Linked DNA regions of Homo sapiens: regions 1, 2, 4 and 5 are each linked to region 3. The links are contacts of gene promoters, found by promoter capture Hi-C in blood cells and fetal thymus (Javierre and others, 2016). All regions are on one chromosome and are shown on one strand. The core of a region is centred on a gene start or on the middle of the fragment in contact, and the rest is flanking DNA. Distances in the headings are between cores, read along the strand shown.

Region 1 (2,700 bases), core at 201-2,700, 300 kb before region 3:
GAATTTGAAAACATCCATACACTTGCCTGAGTGTACCTTGTGTTTTATGTGTCCTAGGATGGATTTTTGTGGCACTGTCTATGTTAGCCCTGTCCTATGCAAAAATCTGAGGAAGCAGTTTTGATGTATAATTAATTATATTTTCTAACAACATTTAACTAGAAAACTGTTAAAAATGTTTGCCCACTTATCACCTAAGATTATCGGATATATCACCAGTAGTATGCATATCACCTTGGGAAACACTCATGGGAAAAGCACTGTAACTGCAGCCAAAATACCTAAATTCAAATTATGGTTCTGCTGTTTAGTAGTTATGCCACCTCGAAACATTAGTTCACATTTCTGAGCTTCTGTTTCATTTTTAAAAGGAAGAGCAATAAAAAGGATATTTGGGGATCATCTGGAACACCAACATATAATCAAATATTGCCACATATTTCAAGGTTTGTGTCTGCATTTGCATCTTCATATAAGCCCAGTGGAGTTCAATGAAGTCACAGGGAATAGAGTCTTCTTAGTAGTTCAGACAGAGAAAAATGGGGGCAGAACTGAATCATGCCAAGGCATTCAATAGCACACGCAGCTGAATTCAAAATAATCTGCACTTAAGGCATCAACACTATATTCAGGAGTTTCAATTCCTTAAAAAAATATGAATAATGCATTTATGCCAAGAGAAGACTCAATGATGTTGCAGCATAAATTATCATTGCAGAAGAAAAGTTTTGTCCTTAAACTATTAAAAGAATTTAACATGACCACAATAACAGTCATGGGTCAATTGCCACTTTGACATTAGGATATATCAAACTTTATTATCAATACATTAAAAATCAAGCACTGTCACTTAGGGATCACTGGGTGACAACATAATCATAAATGCACATGTAAATGAGCACTTTTAAATCTCACTGAAGTATTCTATATGTTCTAGAATACCTTACATCTGACTTTTAGAATATTTTCAAAATGAAAATATAAGATTAAAAAATTCTGATTGGAAGATTTAAATATCAAATTTTTTCCTTATTATGACATCAGTACTATCATAATGTCAGATTTACCCTCATCTTACTCTTACACAATTACCTACATAAAAGATGTTTTGTAAGACATTTACATATGAAGATATGTGATTGATACAGTCACCATACCATACAGTTAAGTTGTAGGCTAAATATGTGACCAAGAAAAAGAAAATTAACACAGGCCAGGAACAGTGGCTCACGCCTGTAATCCCAGTACTTTGGGAGGCCGAGGCAGGTGGATCACGAGGTCAAGAAATTGAGACCATCCTGGCCAACATGGTGAAACCCCATCTCTACTAAAAATACAAAAATTAGCTGGGCGTGGTGGTGTGCATCTGTAGTCCCAGCTACTCAAGAGGCTGAGGCAGGAGAATTGCTTGAACTTGGGAGGCGGAGGTTGCAGTGAGCCGAGATCGCACCACTTCACTCCAGCCTGGCGACACAGCAAGACTCCATCTCAAATTAAAAAAAAGAAAATTAACACAAAAAATTACAACTCGTAACTAGATATGAAATATTTAAGACATTTGTCAAAGGCAGGCAATCTTCATCTTTATGTTGGTAGGAGTTTTCTGGTTCATTCTTGGCCCTCAAAAGATGCATGAGTGTAGTCCTAGAATGGGAAGTATCTCCCATTCATACAGTTGTGATTAATGAAAATTTGGGCTTATTCACCCAGGCCTTGTGTAGACCTACTCCATTGATTAGAATACTTTTAGCAGCAAAAACAGATAATCCTCATTCATTTTGGCCTTCACAAAAAAAGGCATGTATTTTTCCCTATAATAAGATGTTTGGAGGTTGGGAATTTCCATGTATCATGCACCAGGTCCAACTCTTCTTCTTTGTGGTTCTCCTGGTAGCAAGATGGCTGCAGCCATTCAAATTCTAAACATGGCACTCAAACACAAAAATACTCAGAGATAGGAAAGGGATTGCTTCTCCTAGGCATATTTCTTATTTTATTATTATTATTATTATTTTTGAGATGGAGTTTCACTCTTGTTGCCCAGGCTGGAGTGCAATGGCTTGATCTCAGCTCACTGCAACGTCTGCCTCTCAGGTTCAACAGATTCTCCTGCCTCAGCCCCCCTAAGTGTCTGGGATTACAGGTGCCTGCCACCACATCCGGGTAATTTTTGTGTGTGTGTATTTTTGGTAGAGATGGGGTTTTACCATGTTGGCCAGGCTGGTCTCGAACTCCTGACCTCGGGTGATCTGCCAACATCAGGTGATCTGCCTACCTCAGCCTCCCAAAGTGCTGGGATTACAGGCGTGAGCCACCACACCGGGCCCCCTAACGTGTATTCGTTAGAGGCAAGAAAAACTTTTCCCAGAAAAATCTCAGTCATGTCCACCACATTTCATTGGCCAATAATTGGCCAAAAATGCTCACCTCTAAATAAGTGACTGGCAAGAAAATGGGACCAACACCAGCAGTTTAAGCCAACTATGACTTAATTCTGAGCAGGATTTTGGGTTACCATCCAATGAATCACTGAGACAGAGGTGGATCACTGTGAGCAAGAAAAAAGAAGAAAATGGATACTAGATGGGCATAAATAAACAAATCATGCCTTCCACTCACCAACTGGGCATTTTAACTAGTTAGCCAAGTTAAAATTGATAGAGATTTAACTATATTGTTTTTCATACCTGAGGAGGTTGT
Region 2 (2,700 bases), core at 29-2,528, 280 kb before region 3:
CACAGCTCCCACTCTGCAGCGAGCCAGGGAAAGGAGATGGCAGAATGATGTTGCTCGTGGGACTTTGCCTTGCTCTTTGATTCTGCTGCCGTGGGGCAGGTGCATTTTCTCAATTACACACAAAGGTGGCAGGCCATTTCTAGCCACCTTGGCCCCACCTGGCAAATGAAGCCTTAATTTTCAACAGACAGACATTTCAGAGCAAAGTCAGGAGGCTCCTAGGTAAACGGGAAAACAGATGCTCTTGCCAGATGCAAACTGGCTCGTGAGGGATGGTGGTTGTGGTTGCTGAGGGATCCCCAGAATTCAACAACCTGCTAGCCAGCCACAACTGGTGAGGTCCAGGGTCTAAGATAGATGAAGTGGCACACTTACGGCTTTCTGAGACCCAGTTCTTGGAACATTTCCACAGTCTGTCCGTCTCTAAACCTGTTTCCTCATTTGTAAGAGGAAATGATACTGACTCAGGGGATTTCTGACCGTCAAATGATGCCTGGCACATGGGAAGCACTCAGTACAGAGTCGCCATCATACATATCACTGTGTTGGTGCTTCAATGACTTCATCTGTTAACCAGGGAGGGCAAGACTTATTTTACACCATGATGCGAGGATCCAGTGACGTGGAATTCATAGGCTCTGAGCAAAAGATGCAGGGATTTTTATGTGAATTTTATGCCGGTTTCCTCTATCCTGTGCTTTCCAGCTATGTTTTTTTTTTTTTTAACACAAGTAAAAAGCACTTAACCCAATTTGCTAAAGCCAAACCAAGCTCATCACAGAATCATCAGTTCAGGTTGCCAGGCAGGCAGGTAGAAGCAATGCCATGAGCAGTGTATCTTGATTTCTGAAAGACAGTGATAAAAGTCTCTCAAGAAATGCTTGTAGACATGATGAAGACATGTGGACTAGGCACCAACACCCATGACTGCCTGAACAGTCATACACCAAAACGGTTAACATCAATAAGGAGAGACTTTTCCTATTATGGAGGTAGAGCTCTAGAATATGGCCCTATCTGAAGGAAGATGGCTTTTTAAAATTAATCATTTGAACTAAGACAGAAACTATGCTTAGTGAATTTGGAAATTATGCAAAACCAGGACAAAAGCAAAAATAGCAATATTTCAACAGGATGAAAAAATGGACCAAAATCATCACACTGTTACAGTAAAAATGTAAACACCTATACTTGGATTAAAAAAAAAGAGAGAACATAGCTGGAAAGCACAGAATGGAGGAAACCAGTAAAAAATTCACACAAAAATAAATTTAAAAACTACACTTAAAAGATAAATCAGTGTGAGTCGTTGGTGCAATCTGGCTGCCAAAACTAAGGTAATCTTAGGCTGCATTAATAAAAGCACAGTGCCCAGAAAAAAAAAGAACAAATTGTTTCAATAGGTTCTAATATCTACTCAAACTGGAGTCTTTCTAGAGAGAAAATAACCAAAATAATGAAGAGTTTGGAAGGCCATGTGGTTTGAGAAACAGTTGAATATAATGGAGATAAAAGATGAAGAAAGTGGGCTAGTGATGTTGAGAAAGAGGATATTTAGAAGGTACTTAACCTTTTTTTTTTTTTTTTTTTTTTTGACAGAGTCTTTCTCTGTTGCCCAGGCTGGAGTGCATTGGTGTGATCTCGGCTCACTGCAACCTCTGCCTCCCCGGTTCAAGTGATTCTTCTGCCTTATCTTTCCAAGTAACTGGGATTACAGGCGTGTGCCACCAGGCCCAGCTAATTTTTGTATTTTTAACAGAGACAGGGTTTTGCCATGTTGGCCAGGCTAGTCTTGAACTCCTGACCTCAAGTAATCCACTTGCCTCGGCCTCCCAAAGTGTTGGGATTGCAGGCGTGAGCCACCATGCCCGGCCAGTACTTAACTATTTATCTTTAAGTGAAAGGAATGAAACTCTCCGTGAGAAAGTCCTTAGACATATTCTGTGTAGGACTGTAGGACTGGACATTAAAAGGTGACTTTAAAAGTAGACCCTAAAGGAAATATATTTTAGTTAGATAAGAGAAAGGACTCATGGTCATAAGATGGCTGCCACAGCTCCTGGCACTTTTGAAACAGCCCCTATAAACTTTATAAAATTAACCAGGGAAGAAGGAAAGGGAAGAAATGAAAATAAACCAAGTTCACAGCACATTCAGCAGTAATCGTGAGGTCTACTTGCTCTCTGACCTGTTTCCTCATAGTTACTCTGTGCCTATTGCCTCAGAATCACATAGATCCTGTTAAAAGATTATAAAGCCCCTTAACTGTTCTATAGAAAACAACTTGAACATTATGAAACATTATGTTTTCCCTTTGAGATACTCTTTTGGGTCCTGCATACTGATGAAGCTACTGACTCAGCTAGTTTGAAGGACCCCATGAGATCCTGACTCACCAAAGAAGGCAGTTTCCACATCCTGATGATAGAACTTTGTTCCATCGTCTTGGCCCAACCAATTAATAACCTCAATTTTTTAGCCACTCACTCTCCACAATCCCCTTAAATTAAAACGCCAGCCCAGAGCTCCTTGGAGAGATGGATTCAAGGGTCTCCTCCCATCTCCTGACGTGGTGCCCTGCAATCATCAAATTCTTTCTCTGCTGCAAACCCTGCTGACATAGTGTAATTGGTCTGTTACTGCACAGCGGGCATAAGAACCTGTTGGTCCTATAACACTTTGACTGTGGTCAAAGACACA
Region 3 (2,700 bases), core at 159-2,658:
TTGAGACTGCAGTGAGCCGTAATTACGCTACTACACTGTAGCCTGGGTGACAGAGCAAGACCCTATATCAAAATAAAAATAAATAAAACAAAACAAAAACAAATCCAATCTCCTTTCATCTTAGCATTCAGGGACCTCAAAATCTGGTCCCAGACTTCTTTTGATTTCATCACTATCTTCTTTTATGTGCTCAATAAATTTAAACGATTATTATACTCCAATCCAACCAAGAACTGCTTAGGGATTCCCATTTTCTTTTTTTGGGGGGAGGGATGGAGTCTCGCTCTGTTGCCCAGGCTGGAGTGCTGTGGCATGACCTCGGCTCACTGCAACCTCCGCCTCCCAGGTTCAAGTGATTCTCCTGCCTCAGCCTCCCGAGTAGCTGGGACTACAGGCGAGAGCCACCACGCCCGGCTAATTTTTGTATTTTTGGTTTCACCATATTAGCCAGCCTGATCTCGAACTCCTCACCTTGTGATCCTCCTGCCTCCCAAAGTGCTGGGATTACAGGCGTGAGCCACCGCGCCCTGCGGGATTCCCATTTTCTTTTTGTCTTTGCTGCAACCATCTCCTCCCTAGGCAAAGCCCAGGGATCCTTTAGATCCAAACCAATTCATCTCTTCATCAACCACCCGCCACCCATCCCAAACAAAAACATTTAACCCTAAATCTTTGTAAATCCCGTTTACAAGACACCAAGCAACCTAATCTGCATTACAATAATCGGGGTGGGTGTCTAGCTTCTCCAACAGAGCTGTAAACTCCTTAGGGTGTAGGTAATTTGTCATTTATCAGATGACACCTCCCCCGCCCTCTGCTGCTGCAGGAAGAACCAACTAAAGCATGAATGAATGAAAGCCTGCACACACCAGGGGCCCGCCTCAACCCTCCTCCTCTCTTGGAAACACGCCTCCTGCGGGAGGCAGCGGGAGGAGGTTCACGCGGCATGACCGCGCTCTTGTCCTCCCGACGGCCTCGGAAGGTAAGGGGCGACGGGGGCCGGCTGGAAGCTTGGCGGGGCACGTCACCCACTGACCCGGCCACTCACCAGTGCACCAACACCGCACGGCCCTCAGCGCGGGCCTGACCGATGAAGGCCACGCACCGGTCCAGATGGCTGAGTAGGTCCGTCTCGGGTTTGTCCAGCGCTGGCACGAAGAGGCGCCATAGATCCTCGACCCCAGGCCCCGCCTTGAAGCTGGGCTCCTCCGAGTCCACTGTTAGCACGGCCGTGATGCCCGCTTCCCTCAGGTGATCTGGCTCCGCGACGGCCGCGGCCCCACCGAAATACAATCCTGGCTGCACTTCCAGCATCTGCCCGGCACAGCTGACTCTGCTGGCGCTGGGGTTGCTGAGCTCGCAGCCATCACTCGGGCCCGGAGCCTCCAACATGGCCGCGCCCAGAGACAAGGCGGCTTCCTGCCCTACCATCGAGTAGACTCCGGCTAGAACATCCTTCCCCTGGGACTCGCCAGCCTCGGCGGCTCTGCTGCTCCCTCGGAGGACCACGTCGGCCGCAGGAATCTGGACTTATCGCTGAGGGGCGGAGCTTCGGCCCCATTCAGCGCGGCCTTTCCACCCTTGTTCCCTCTGACCCCTACCCCCAAAGTTGATGGTGAAGGATAAGCTTCCCCAAATACAGGGTTTCTCGAGCTCTTAGTATTGAAATTTTCAGGAAAGAGACATCAGGAGCAGCTGAACTCAAATGTGAAATAAATGTCGCACCAGCTGAATCAGAAGCATCATTTTATGCATTTGAAGTAAAATTTTTTTCAATATTATGGAGCCATCTTTACTGTGCATTTCATGATTATTTTTCCTTTTTCTGCCCAATTTCATTATTGGGGTGTGAATCCTTGTTGATGTTTACTGTCTATTTATTTTGAAGATACTAATCCTATATTTTTGTAAGTCAATGTCCTCCGGCCAGGACTACAAGAAACCAACTTTAATTAAGCAAGTTGGTTTTATTACTCAGTCATGAGTTATGGAGAATTTCAGGGCATCTCAGCACGAGGATGTTAGGAAGATCCTCTACAGATTTTGGGCTTTTATTTGGGGATTTTGGAAAGGGTTGAAGGAAGCAGGCTTTGCTCCAGACTGAATGCTGCAGGAAGATACTCAGTACAGTGAGTATATTTTATATATCTTTTGTATAGGGAGGACAGGTGAGAGAGATACTAAAGCTGTAATTGGTCAAGAAGTAGCAGCTATAGTACTGGTATAAAGATAGATACATCGACGTGTCTCTATTCTGGAACAGAACAAACCCTTGCGTGTGGAGTCCTAATTAGGGAAAAGGAGTCAGGCTGGCTGGACGAAGGGAAGCAAAAGGAGAAAGCAGACAAGCCATAAGTCTGCCTTTCTTCGTGGTCCAGGACACATAGCCCTGCTGTGCAAATAACTCACAATCTGCCTGTGCCCAGCCATCACCAGACCCTCAGCTGATAGAAAAATGGAAGTTAGTTCACTGCAACCCTGGCATTATTAGTACTGCACAAAGCCCTCTTCCACCCACAACATAAGCACCATTCTACAAAATCCCCAGCAAGCCTTTGTTTCCTAGCAGTCAGCTTCTCTCTTGCTGACCTGCCTGTTGCACCCTTGCAATGTATTTTCATACTTTATCTAATAAACCTGCCTTTCTTTACCTACAACTGTGTTGGTAAATTCTTCCTACCACCCATGTCACCAGCCCAG
Region 4 (2,700 bases), core at 1-2,500, 440 kb after region 3:
CCCTCATTCCTCATAGATCTTCCACTATGCCAAGGGACAACCCTACATTGACGAGGTGGGGACCTTCAAAGAGCGCATCCAGTGGGTAGGGGACCCTCGCTGGAAGGATGGCTCCATTGTCATACACAACCTAGACTACAGTGACAATGGCACGTTCACTTGTGACGTCAAAAACCCTCCAGACATAGTGGGCAAGACCTCTCAGGTCACGCTGTATGTCTTTGAAAAAGGTGTGAGAAGGGATGGGGACAAGGGTATGGGAAGCAGTTTGGGAGGGGATCAGGGAGGACTGATAGGTTGGGGGAAGAGGCAAAAAGCCCGGCCTAAGGACCTTTATTCAGGCTCTGGGAGCGTGGGCAGAAGGCAGTTTTAGCTGGGAGTCCTACATCCTCAATGCAGGGCATACACTCGGACTAGGAACCACAGATACAGGGCCCTGCTCATTCTCCCACTTCTTTTCCCACCCCTCCTAGTGCCAACTAGGTACGGGGTCGTTCTGGGAGCTGTGATCGGGGGTGTCCTCGGGGTGGTGCTGTTGCTGCTGCTGCTTTTCTACGTGGTTCGGTACTGCTGGCTACGCAGGCAGGCGGCCCTGCAGAGGAGGCTCAGGTAAGGGGCGGAGCCTAGCTCCCCTCCCCCTCTCCCCACTATCCCCCATCTGGGCGGAGACTACTCCAGTGGGTGGGAGGGCCAAGGGGAAGAGGAAGCTGTGTCCGCGGTGCAAGGGGTTCCGGCGAGGCCAAACGTACAGCAGTCTCTCTTCTTGCAGTGCTATGGAGAAGGGGAAATTGCACAAGCCAGGAAAGGACGCGTCGAAGCGCGGGCGGCAGGTTAGCGGGACTTGGGGCCTAGACAAGATGGGAAGGAGAACCCTGGGAGCCGCCGGGCAGCAGTGAGGGGTGGGATGGGAACAGTCAAGCCCCAGTCGCTCGGTGACTGATGTGTGCGCCCCTCCCCCAGACGCCAGTGCTGTATGCAATGCTGGACCACAGCAGAAGCACCAAAGCTGTCAGTGAGAAGAAGGCCAAGGGGCTGGGGGAGTCTCGCAAGGATAAGAAATAGCGGTTAGCGGGCCGGGCGGGGGATCGGGGGTTAGGGGTGGAGTCCGCCAAAGGCCCAAAGGTGATGGTCATCGAGATGGAGCTACGAAAGGATGAGCAGAGCCCGGAGCTCCGGCCTGCTGTCAAGTCCCCCAGCAGAACCAGCCTCAAAAACGCCCTCAAGAACATGATGGGCCTGAACTCGGACAAGTGATCGCCACCCCCCCACCCCAGGCCCTGCCAGAGCAGGGGGACCTAGGCTCCTCTTACCCCCGTCTAGGTGCTTTCCCTCTTTGCTCCCCCGCCCTGCCCTGCCCTCACCTCCCTTTGAGATGTAAGTTTCATTCCAGAATTCATTCCCCAGGCAATTGTATTCTCCCCCACCTTCACCCCTGGCTTTCTGGGAGCCCAGGAGCTAATCCTACCCCTCACCTGCCCCGGGGGCTGTGTGTTTGGTGCCTGTCCACCTGAGCACTGAGAAGAAAGGGACTTTGATACCCTCTGCCTCAAGTCCAGGCCACCTGGCATTCCCATCTCCTGCATCCCCCAGCCTGTCCCCCTGGCTGTTTCCTCTCCCGTCCCTCCCTCCCCTCTACCAGGTGGCCCAGCTCCATACTCTGTCCCCCCAGCTAATACCCAGAGCACCCAGATCAGACTCTCCTTCAGGGTTTATTTAGGTTATTATTTTTTATTTTTTAATCCATTCTTTGTTTGTTTACCTGTGCTCATCCTCTGCCCTTACACCCATGACTGAGGACCAATGACGTCATGTGGCTTTTGCAATTCACGCCCCCCTTAAGTCCTTAATGAAGAGCCAGCCCAAGTAGAGGGGCCCCTGATCCTCACACTTCAGTATAGCATTGGTTCCCCCTGACCACTTTGGAGCACTGTTCTGGGACTCCAGGTCTTGAGGAGAGAGACAGAGAGAGAGAATGGATCCTCATAGGTCAGGGAGTGGGGGAGGGGGCAAATGAGCCTTAAGAAATGGTTTTTAAACAACCAAACAAAAAGCAGGAAAAACAAATGGGAAATGGGGGGGCGGGGGGGAGGAAGAGGCTGCACTGCAGCCACAGGGGATTCTTAGGATTTTTCTACATTCTGTATATTTCTTCTCAAACCTCCAAATGTCCTTAAATGTTTAATAAACACTGACATTTCCAGAAGCTGCTGCCTTGTCTAGAATTTCCTAGTCCTCCTGGGAATAATTCCTGCCCCTTATCCCATCCCCAACCTTCCATACTTGGCTTCAGTTGTTTAGTTTGTTTTTTTGGGGTGGGCTTATATAGTATACTAGAAAGAACTCTGAAATAGCCTCACAAGACACATTCATACCTTCAGCAAATAATCAGTGAGATTATACTACGTTGTAAACTCTGCCAGTCTCTGCTTTTACATGAGTTAAAACGCAGAATCTGTCTTCACCAAGATCTGAATTTTAAAACATCCCAGCCACTCTCTAGCTGTGTGATCCCCAGGACAGTTACCTGACTTTGGTAAGCTTGTTTATGTACTTGTAAACAACTGAGATAATGATATCTGCCCTGCTTAATTCCTAGGGATTTTATAATAATCAAATGAGATCCTGTGTATGGAAAACTTTGTAAACTGTAAGTTGATATACAACTAAATATTAAGGTGTTCAATATTTGTTTCTAGTGCT
Region 5 (2,700 bases), core at 69-2,568, 330 kb after region 3:
CATCAAGGGTGACAGCTTCTTCCTAGTCAATTCTTTGCCATGGTCTCACTCCCCGCCTTCCTCAATCCAGAATCTGAGCAGGAAACGAATCTGGTCAAAGCACGTGGTTGGATTTTCGTGACCCAGTGCTTCCAAAAGGCCAAACCTCACCTCTGCTCCACCTGCCCCCACTCTTGGATCCAGCAGCCTCACACTTCCCAGGCCTCTGCCCTGACATCTGCCTCCCTAGAAGGATGAAGAGCAGTAGCGCCTGGAATTCCAACCATCTGCCACAGTCTTGCATGGCACAGGTGAGTTTTGTGGGAGATGGGGTGGGGTGGAGAGTAGACAACGTTTCTGGCATTTTCACAAATGGCCACTCTGATGCTGGCCTCTCGCTCTGTCCTGCCAGCAAAGGGTCAGACTAGGTGGTGGCCTGGGAGCAAATGGGGCATGAGCAATCAATGCTTCCTACCTATCTGGGCCCAGTGTAAAAGTGGGCAGTTAGAGGAGATGTTGTTGACTTTAGATTCATCTCCTTCCTCATTAGCATAGTTGGTGAGTATTCCCTTCTGTCCTGACAGATCTGGATTTGATCCCCCTGCCATTTAACTAATTTGTTACCACTTCACTTTTGTTTATACATTTTATTTCCTGGCTTACAATTAACCAATTCGTTACCATATAGATATATGGTTTTTATTTTACAAAAAAATCTAAACGGATTATGAGTTTACAAGCTCAGTAAAGTATTGGCTGGCTCTGGACTTCCCTAATAAGCCACATTAAACACCTGGTGACAGCTGCCAATGCAAAGGTCAAGGGCTGCTAATACCGGACTGCCTAGAACTCCATGATTTTAACTACTTTCAGGATTTCAAAGTGGGGGAAAGTTTTATTAATTACTAATACTATGACTGTGCTAATCCACCCATTCTAGATTTAGAATATTCCTGAGAGACTGCATGTTTCCGTGGCAAAATTAAACGTACTCAGGAGGCCAAGGCAGGAGGATCGCTTGACCCCAGGAGTTTGAGAGCAGACTGGGTAGCATAGCATAACATCTCTTAAAAAAAGAAAAAGAAGAAGAAATAGAGAAAAAATTAAACACAAGTATACATTAGTGATTCTCAACATGGGTGGGCCTAGTCCCCTTAAGGAGCATTTCAGAATTCCTCAGTGGACATCAGCCTTCGCGCAGCCTCCCTACCCATCAGGTGCTGATGAGGTTAGCAACCAGATGTTTGGCCTCCCCATTTGCTTCCCTTGAGAATTGTGGCTAGCGATATTAGGAGCTCACTACCATTCTTAATTTACCCCTTTGAGTAAACGATCAACATTTTTCTTTTAAACATGTATTTCAGGCCGGGTGCAGTGGCTCATGCCTGTAATCCCAGCACTTTGGGAGGCTGAGGCAGGCAGATCACTTGAGGTCAGGAGTTCCAGACCAGCTTGGCCAACATGGTGAAACCCCATCTCCACTAAAAATACAAAAATTAGCCAGGCATGGTGGTGCATGCCTGTAATCCCAGCTACTTGGGAGGCTGAGGCAGGAAAATCACTTGAACCCGGGAGGCAGAGGTTGCAGTTAGCTGAGATCATGCCACTGCACCCCAGCCTGGGTGACAGAGCAAGACTCTGCCTCAAAAAATAAACAAATAAATAAATAAATATATATATATATATATGTATGTATGTATGTATGTATTTCAGAAAGAAGAAATGATACTGGACTACAGAAGCATTACTGAGATGCTGTGGTCATCAGGCCAAGGGTCGTGGATGGGAATCTGTGGGGAGGCATTCCCCCATGCCCACAGTCCCCTCACTCTTTAGCCAGAGTATTGTTAGGTTTGGTTCTTGACCAAGGTCTCAGGCTCAACTCGTGTGTGTGCTTCAATATGGGTTGGTTCCTTCCTCCCTTCCTTCCTTCCTACCTCCCTCCCTCCCTTCTCTTTCTTTCTGTATTGAGGCCAGAGTCTCACTCATTGCCCAGGCTGGAGTGCAATGGTGTGATCTCGGCTCACTGCAACCTGCGCCTCCCGGGTTCAAGCGATTCTTCTGCCTGAGCCTCCAGAGTAGCTGGGATTACAGGCACCCACCACCACGCCCGGCTAATTTTGTATTTTAGTAGAGACAGGGTTTCACCATGTTGGTCAGGTTGGTCTCAAACTCCTGACCTCAGCTGATTCACTCGCCTCAGCCTCCCAAAGTGCTGGGATTACAGGTGTGAGTCACAGTGCCCAGCCTATTGATCTGTCTTTGAATTCACTAATCTTGTCTCCTGCTGTGTCCAATTTGCTGTTAAACCCATTCAGAGGGTTCTGTTCTAGAAGTTTTTGTCTCTATTCCAATTCTCTGTTGAAATTCTTCTCATCTACTTTCCATCTTTTCCTCTATTTTTTAAAAATAAAATTGTGATTATTTTAAAGTTCTTGCCTGTGAACTTAAACAATTGGCTTATATTTGTTTCTGCTTCTACTGTTTTCTTTTTTCTCTTGACCATTGGTCACATTTTCCTTTCTCTTCACATGTCTCCTAATTTTTATTGTATGCTGAACATTATGTAAAAAATAACTAGAGGCCAGGCTGGTGGCTCACACCTGTAATCCCAGCACTTTGGGAGGCCGAGGTGGGCAGATCATTTAAGGTCAGAAGTTCAAGACCAGCCTGGCCAACATGGTGAAACATGGTGAAACTTCATCTCTACTAAAAGTACAA

The links. The method cuts DNA at HindIII sites, captures the fragments that hold promoters and counts their contacts. A CHiCAGO score of 5 or more calls a contact.
Region 1: a fragment that was not itself captured here is called in contact with the fragment with the promoter of DUSP12 in region 3 in 3 of 17 cell types (total CD4 T cells, endothelial precursors and naive CD4 T cells); the score reaches 6.6 in total CD4 T cells.
Region 2: a contact is called between a fragment that was not itself captured here and the fragment with the promoter of DUSP12 in region 3, in 12 of 17 cell types (naive CD4 T cells, M0 macrophages, M1 macrophages and 9 more). The highest score is 15.2, in naive CD4 T cells.
Region 4: a fragment that was not itself captured here is called in contact with the fragment with the promoter of DUSP12 in region 3 in 1 of 17 cell types (erythroblasts); the score reaches 7.1 in erythroblasts.
Region 5: a contact is called between a fragment that was not itself captured here and the fragment with the promoter of DUSP12 in region 3, in 1 of 17 cell types (neutrophils). The highest score is 5.6, in neutrophils.

What each region holds. Positions count from the first base shown.
Region 1 is chr1:162,045,036-162,047,735 of GRCh38, reverse strand. No RefSeq gene overlaps it. Among named protein-coding and RNA genes, the nearest start is that of OLFML2B, 23 kb to the right of the region's middle. The HindIII fragment of the contact is 3,967 bases long and covers 1-2,700 here.
Region 2 is chr1:162,026,694-162,029,393 of GRCh38, reverse strand. No RefSeq gene overlaps it. Among named protein-coding and RNA genes, the nearest start is that of OLFML2B, 4.2 kb to the right of the region's middle. The HindIII fragment of the contact is 3,406 bases long and covers 1-2,700 here.
Region 3 is chr1:161,748,494-161,751,193 of GRCh38, reverse strand. It overlaps DUSP12 (dual specificity phosphatase 12), which reads right to left and starts at 1,408. Exons shown (of 6, transcript NM_007240.3): 1 at 1,049-1,408. The coding sequence starts at 1,392. RefSeq lists enhancers at 392-1,038, 1,100-1,609. The HindIII fragment of the contact is 617 bases long and covers 1,013-1,629 here.
Region 4 is chr1:161,304,238-161,306,937 of GRCh38, reverse strand. It overlaps MPZ (myelin protein zero), which reads left to right. Exons shown (of 6, transcript NM_000530.8): 3 at 17-230; 4 at 474-609; 5 at 770-830; 6 at 961-2,203. The coding sequence ends at 1,062. Among named protein-coding and RNA genes, the nearest start is that of MPZ, 4.4 kb to the left of the region's middle. The HindIII fragment of the contact is 2,580 bases long and covers 1-2,540 here.
Region 5 is chr1:161,417,259-161,419,958 of GRCh38, reverse strand. It overlaps the pseudogene COMMD6P1. Among named protein-coding and RNA genes, the nearest start is that of TRE-TTC4-2, 3.6 kb to the left of the region's middle. The HindIII fragment of the contact is 3,388 bases long and covers 1-2,700 here.